Regions from separate parts of the Homo sapiens genome. Here region 1 is linked to region 2. Evidence: promoter capture Hi-C in 16 types of primary human blood cells and fetal thymus (Javierre and others, 2016). All regions are on one chromosome and are shown on one strand. Each heading gives the region's core, a stretch centred on a gene start or on the middle of the fragment in contact. The rest is flanking DNA. Distances are from core to core; before and after follow the strand shown.

The links. Contacts are between HindIII fragments. The CHiCAGO score rates a contact against its expected background, and 5 or more counts as called.
Region 1: a contact is called between the fragment with the promoter of WSB1 here and the fragment with the promoter of ZNF18 in region 2, in 3 of 17 cell types (total CD4 T cells, non-activated CD4 T cells and activated CD4 T cells). The highest score is 12.9, in total CD4 T cells.

Annotation. Positions count from the first base shown.
Region 1 is chr17:27,292,848-27,295,717 of GRCh38, forward strand. It overlaps WSB1 (WD repeat and SOCS box containing 1), which reads left to right and starts at 1,267. Exons shown (of 9, transcript NM_015626.10): 1 at 1,267-1,588. The coding sequence starts at 1,549. It overlaps MIR4522 (microRNA 4522), which reads right to left and starts at 1,149; the gene lies at 1,063-1,149. RefSeq lists enhancers at 996-1,045, 1,416-1,475, 1,486-1,545 and a silencer at 1,086-1,295. The HindIII fragment of the contact is 5,795 bases long and covers 1-2,183 here.
Region 2 is chr17:11,996,207-11,999,430 of GRCh38, forward strand. It overlaps ZNF18 (zinc finger protein 18), which reads right to left and starts at 1,269. Exons shown (of 7, transcript NM_001303281.2): 1 at 1,225-1,269. RefSeq lists a silencer at 968-1,417 and enhancers at 1,350-2,333, 1,448-1,687, 1,758-1,837. The HindIII fragment of the contact is 4,230 bases long and covers 1-2,464 here.

The sequences.
Region 1 (2,870 bases), core at 17-2,516, about 15 Mb after region 2:
TTAATACACTCATGCAAAGAAAAGATGAAGTAAACATGCCCTACAGTGTTATCATTTGAGATCTCTTAAAAGCGGCTATGCAGCCGGGCGTGGTGGCTCACGTTGTAATCCCAGCACTTTGGGAGGCTGAGGCGGGCGGATCACTCGAGGCCAGGAGTTCGAGACTAGCCTGGCCAACAGGGTGAAACGCCCTCTGTACTAAAAATACAAAAATTACCCGGGCTTGGTGTCACATGCCTGTACAAATCCCAGCTACTGGGGAGGCTGAGGCAGGAGAATTGCCTGAACCCGGGAAACGGAGGTTGCAGTGAGCCAAGATCACGCCATTGCACCCCAGCCTGGGAGAAGCGAGACTCCGTCTCAAAAAAAAAAAAAAAAAAAAAAAAAAAAGCGGCTATGCAACACTCTACTCTGTCCCATGAATATCTGCCACATATTTGAATTCCCAGTCTTATACGCCCCAGGCCTTTGCAATGTTTAGGGTCCACACGAGAAGCCATTAAAATGCAAATACGTCATCTGTGACCGGGAACCAAGCTGGCATCTAGCAGATACTGACACATTTATCAGTCTGATGTGTGGACAACTAGGTGCCTCCCAGAGGCCTTCAGGTAAGGTGGAGGAAGGGCCAATTCTGAGCTGACACAGTGGGATCCATCTTGGCCAGGACAGTGGGATCCATCTTGGCCAGGACAAAGGCAGTCCAGAGAGGCCCCGCGGCGCGGTGCGGCGCGATCACGCCCGAGTCTCCTTCTCGTTCCCCTCGGCCCTTCCTAAAACCTGCTGGCTCAGGTCTGAACAATCGCAGCTGGACAGGTGGTGCACAACGATGTTAATTTTCATCCTGTCTTTTTCATCAGTGCATCCTTCAGTTCCCTATTACTTGTGGGCTGGGGAGTTGGCCAAATTGAGTGAAAACCTGAAATGTCTTTTTGTTCTTTTGGTTCAGCCAGTTTAAGTTCCATGCAATCTTTAAGCTAGGAGGCTAATAATAATACAATTCTCTGCTTGCCCTTTTCAAAGCCACTTCAGCTTATAAACTCCATATTAGACCATCCAGGCCCAGAAGACGCCACCGGCCTACAGGCAGAGTCAGCGGAACCAGCCTGGGCTGGATCTCCCCCTGCGAGGCCCCCAGGCAACGCCCGCGCCGGGCCGGGGAGATCACGTCCCGTGCGTCGGGAGGCGGGGGCCTCGGGCTGTGACGTCACGTGGCCGCGCCCCTGCCGCCCAGATATCTCCGGCGCCGCCCGCCATTTTGACTCCAGTGTCTCGTTTGCAGTCGGCGCTTTAGGGGAACTGTCTTCCTCCGCAGGCGCGAGGCTGGGTACAGGGTCTATTGTCTGTGGTTGACTCCGTACTTTGGTCTGAGGCCTTCGGGAGCTTTCCCGAGGCAGTTAGCAGAAGCCGCAGCGGCCGCCCCCGCCCGTCTCCTCTGTCCCTGGGCCCGGGAGGGACCAACTTGGCGTCACGCCCCTCAGCGGTCGCCACTCTCTTCTCTGTTGTTGGGTCCGCATCGTATTCCCGGAATCAGACGGTGCCCCATAGATGGCCAGCTTTCCCCCGAGGGTCAACGAGAAAGAGATCGGTGAGGATTGGGACCGTGGGTGGGCGCATGAGGGCCGAGGAGAGGCAGGGACTCCCCGGAGGAGGTTTGGGAGGAAGCGACTCCAAGTCTGAGGGAAGAGCTCCAGTGCGCCAGGGCCAGCCCACTAGCGAGGAGGAGGAAGCCGCCTCGGTGGGAGTTGGCTGAGGGGTAAACGGCACCGACGTGGATGCAGCACCTACTGTGCTCCCTCGCGGTTGCTGTGTGGCTGGGGCGGGCAAGGACCCCGGTTTCTTCGTCGGAGGTCCGCGCAGGGCTCTTGTCCTGGGAGTTCTTGGCTCAGGGCATGACTGTCGAGTGGACAGGGAAGGGCCACTCAGGGACTTTAGGTTTACAATGGGGAAAAGTAAACTTGTGGGTTGTAAGCGGTAATGAAAGGAGGGGGTCCTCGTGTGTACCAACCACTCTTAGATAGAAATGAGATGGAAGAGGTCCCAACAGCCTGGCAAAAGCAATACAGTATTTTTAAAATGGTGTGGCCTTAAGAAACGCAGCGGTTCGGGGGAGGAGACTTTTAGAATTATCTTTCAAACACTTAAGGGAGGAGCTGGGTGGTTGGGTGGAGTGACAGAAGGAAAGCTTTTGTGCGGAAGAGGAAACTCTGGAAAAGGCTTTTCTGGCTTAGTGTCTAGCCCTGGTCGGCTTAGTAAAGGGCAATTAGTGTTGAAGGTTGTGCGTCCACACCTACTTAGTGGCTCAGTGGAAAGCACGTCGCATTATTTAAATCCTCTTTTAAAGTAAAATAACTGGAACAACGTTTGACGGTGTTGGGGGGTGCTGTACATTGGCTGATAACACTTAGCAAACACTGATCTTACTGTGTGAAGTAATAATTAGCTGCGGCCGCTGAGCAGAGAGCATTTACATTTTCCTACTCTTGAAGTGAATGTGTGCCTTTACTAAGTACAAGGAGGAGTTATTTCTAGAGAAGGGAAGAGGCTGAAGTAGCCAAAACGCGCACTATTTTGTATGTGGGTGAATTTTTATATCTAGAAACAGCTGTTTTAGAATTCTGGACTTTTGTTGTCTTAGGGATGATTGATTAGGAAGGGACTTTAACCCTGGTTTTAATAACCATTTTTAAAGATACAAACACAGAAAAAAAAGGGAAAAAATTGTAGCAGAGTTCACACAGAAAAAAGAAAAAAAAAGATGCAAAGAACACAGAATTTGTGTCCAGTTATTATTTTAACTGTATTTTAAGACTAGAAAGTATGTCGCGAAGTGGGACAAAGAACTCAAAAGTTCTTATCAGTCCAGTGGG
Region 2 (3,224 bases), core at 19-2,518:
TTTAGCTCAGAGGTAAACCTACAGTTTCAAATAACATCTTAAAAAACGAATAAATATATTTTTAAAAATACCTTGCTTTGTAAATCCAACCTATTTGGCTCAAGAGTTTCAAATAACAAGCGGCAAGATTTTAGATAGCAAGATACCGACCTGTAAACTTACTGCAATTTATCTGTTTCCTAAATTAAGATAGCAGTTTAGATAATATTTAAGAGAAATGACATTTTGGAAAAACTACAGATTTTATAAAATACTTAAATCTTTTGTTAGTAATATTATACTCCCAGGTAGTGTGTAAGAAAAATGTCTCGATTATTCAAAATTAAATTACTTTATATAGTATTAAAAATTTAATAGAGTTTATATTCCGATAACCTCATGAGGAACTGCCCCCATTAGTTATGAAAAAAAAATAAGGTTGTCTGTTATACCTGTTATTAAACCTTTAACAAATAGAATGAATTTTTAAAAGTGCATTCTAGGTGTAATATACACAAGTGGTTACATACATGGTTACATATATAAGTAACCATTTGTTAAGCACCTACTACGTATCGGCTCATTATTAAGCTCGGTTCATGTATTTCCAATTCCCACAATTACCCTGGTGTACAGATCAGGAACCTCCGAGGCTCACAAGTGGCAGCCAGATTAACCCAGGAAGCTCTAAAGCCTTTGCTTTGGGGAGAACTGCCAACGTCTGGTGATTTGTTGGGGCGTTTTCTGGTTGTCACAAGCAGCTAGGGGAACTGGCATTTAGTGCTCGAGGCCAGGGCAGCGCTGCTCATTGGATATGTATTCTCCACCATGCGCCCCCCAAATGCCGACTGCACTCTGATGAGAGAGGGAGAGACTCCAGGCATCATCCCATCGGGTTTCCTCTTCCAGAGACTCATTTTCAGCCCTTAGGGGAAGACAGCGGGGAGGAGCCCGTTTTCGGTCCCAGTGCAGAGACCCGGCCGGTCCCGCGGGGCGCAGAGGCGCAGGAATGCAGAGCCGGGACGGGGTTCACACATCCCCCCGCACCCACGGTCCACTCCCAGCCATGGCTGCCCCGGCCCCGCACTCGCCACGTCCCCCGCGCGCTCCCAGACGCATGGGCAAGGGAGCCCGCTGGCCCCTCCGTAGCTCCGGGGTGCCCAGCTGAGTCAGGTGCGGACGCAGATAGCGCAAGGCCTGACCCCGAGCGGCCGGAGGCCGGGACCGCCCCGCAAGCGCGCTCACCTCGGCCCGCGGCGCCGGCTCCGGGCGCACTTCCGGGAGCTGGGTGGCTGCGCGCGCCTCAGGCGGCAGGCGAACGACGTGCGGCACCGGGCGGAGCTAGGGGGCGGGGGCGGAGCTGATACCGAAGCTCCTATTGGCCGTCGGGGACGCCCCGCCTCTCTCTGGCGTTGCAGCCCAGGAGCCTCCACCGACATGGCAGCGAGGTTCCCGAGCCAACGCCATCCTCCGTTCCTTCCGTCACTCACTCACTAATCACTGTTCCTGAGTTCCTTCACTTCTCACCCGTCATTTATTGCGCACCTATTCTGTGCCAGGCACTCGGCCAAGCACTGCGAGGCCTTCAAAGATCATTTCTTTGTCTCTCCCAAACCCTTCCGCCCAGTCCCACCCGCAGAGCTGCAACGCTCTGCCATTATCCCTGATTCTTAACCGCCGCCTTTCTCCTTTCCGTTCTTGCCTCACTGGGCCTCCCTGAGACACTTGATTTGCCCCAACCTTCTTCCTCTGTCTTGGTTCTCCCACTCTCATCAGCTCTGCATCCCCTGGGTCCTCTCCCACTTCTCCCCATTCCGTTGGGGCTAGTCCAATGTGGTGCCATCCTCTTTCCACCTGCGTCTCTCTCTCTTCTCTCTCTCTCTCTCAACAAATGTCATCCCTGACTCTTCCCTTCTCCTTCCCTTTCCCACACGCCAACAATGGCTGAATCCTCTGATTTGACCTCATTGTCTCTCAGACACCTCACCCTCTCTCCCTTCTCACTATCCCTCCCTCGGCTCAGTTCCACACCATTTGTAATGGTCAAGACCTTCTTACCCTTTCCCCAGCGTCCAGTGTTGCCGGTTTCCAGGCCATCCTGTGCTGGGCCACGACATCAACTTGTGATACTAAGTTGCATTAATGGAAGTATCATGTCAAAGTTTGGGTGTTCCACCTTGGGCAACTGGCAAAGAGGAGGGTATTCAAAAAAAGCTGCCATGTTCCCCAATAACCTATGGAAATAAAATAAATAAAAAATAAAAATTTAAAGAAGAGCTGTCATTATCATAACATGTCCTGTACCTGTCATTATCATAACATGTCCTGTACCTGTCATTATCATAACATGTCCTGTACCTGTCATTATCATAACATGTCCTGTACCTGTCATTATCATAACATGTCCTGTACCTGTCATTATCATAACATGTCCTGTACCTGTCCCATGTTTACAAGAATTAAAGATCCTCCTCTGGAGAAATAAAGCTTGATGCGGGGATGGGATTACATCTTCATGTACCTGAAAAGTGACCAGCGGAAAAGGGATTCGACATGTTCTCTTAAGTCCCAGGGTCTGAACAAGATCCTATGTGTGAAACTACTGTTTCAGCCTGACATAGGTGGAAGTTTCTAGTCTTTTTTTTTTTTTTTTTTTTTTTTTGTATTTTTGGTGGAGACGGGGTTTCACCATGTTGGCCAGGCTGGTCTCGAACTCGTGACCTCAAGTGATCCACCCACCTTGGCCTCCCAAAGTGCTGGGATTACAGGCATGAGCCATGGCACCTAGCTGGACGTTTCTAACATTCATGTGATTGATGGCGCTGCTTTGAGTTCCTGAGGACAGCATGGCTAACAATTTACCAGGCACATTTAGAGGGACACCTTCATTGGGTATTGCTTCCAACATCAATGTGCTCTGCTTCTAAGAAAGTCAAGAGATAAGGTGGTTTAGAGGGGAAGATTATAGGAGTTTTATCTTCAATGTGTTCGCTTTTAGCTGATCAACACCCAAGGAAGATAACAGTAATTCAAAACCATTAATTGGGTTCTGACTCCTTTGTGAATCTGATGGAAGGTAAAATTTTTCCCAAGAAAAATGCACATACACATCTACATACAACACTTTGCACTCAAATCCAGGGAGCTAACACAGCCTTGAAACCCATCCTTGGAACCCACAAACCTCAGTTTGAGAACTCTAATCCTGGTAGATGGTTCCTGATATGAAAATGACACTTTGAAGT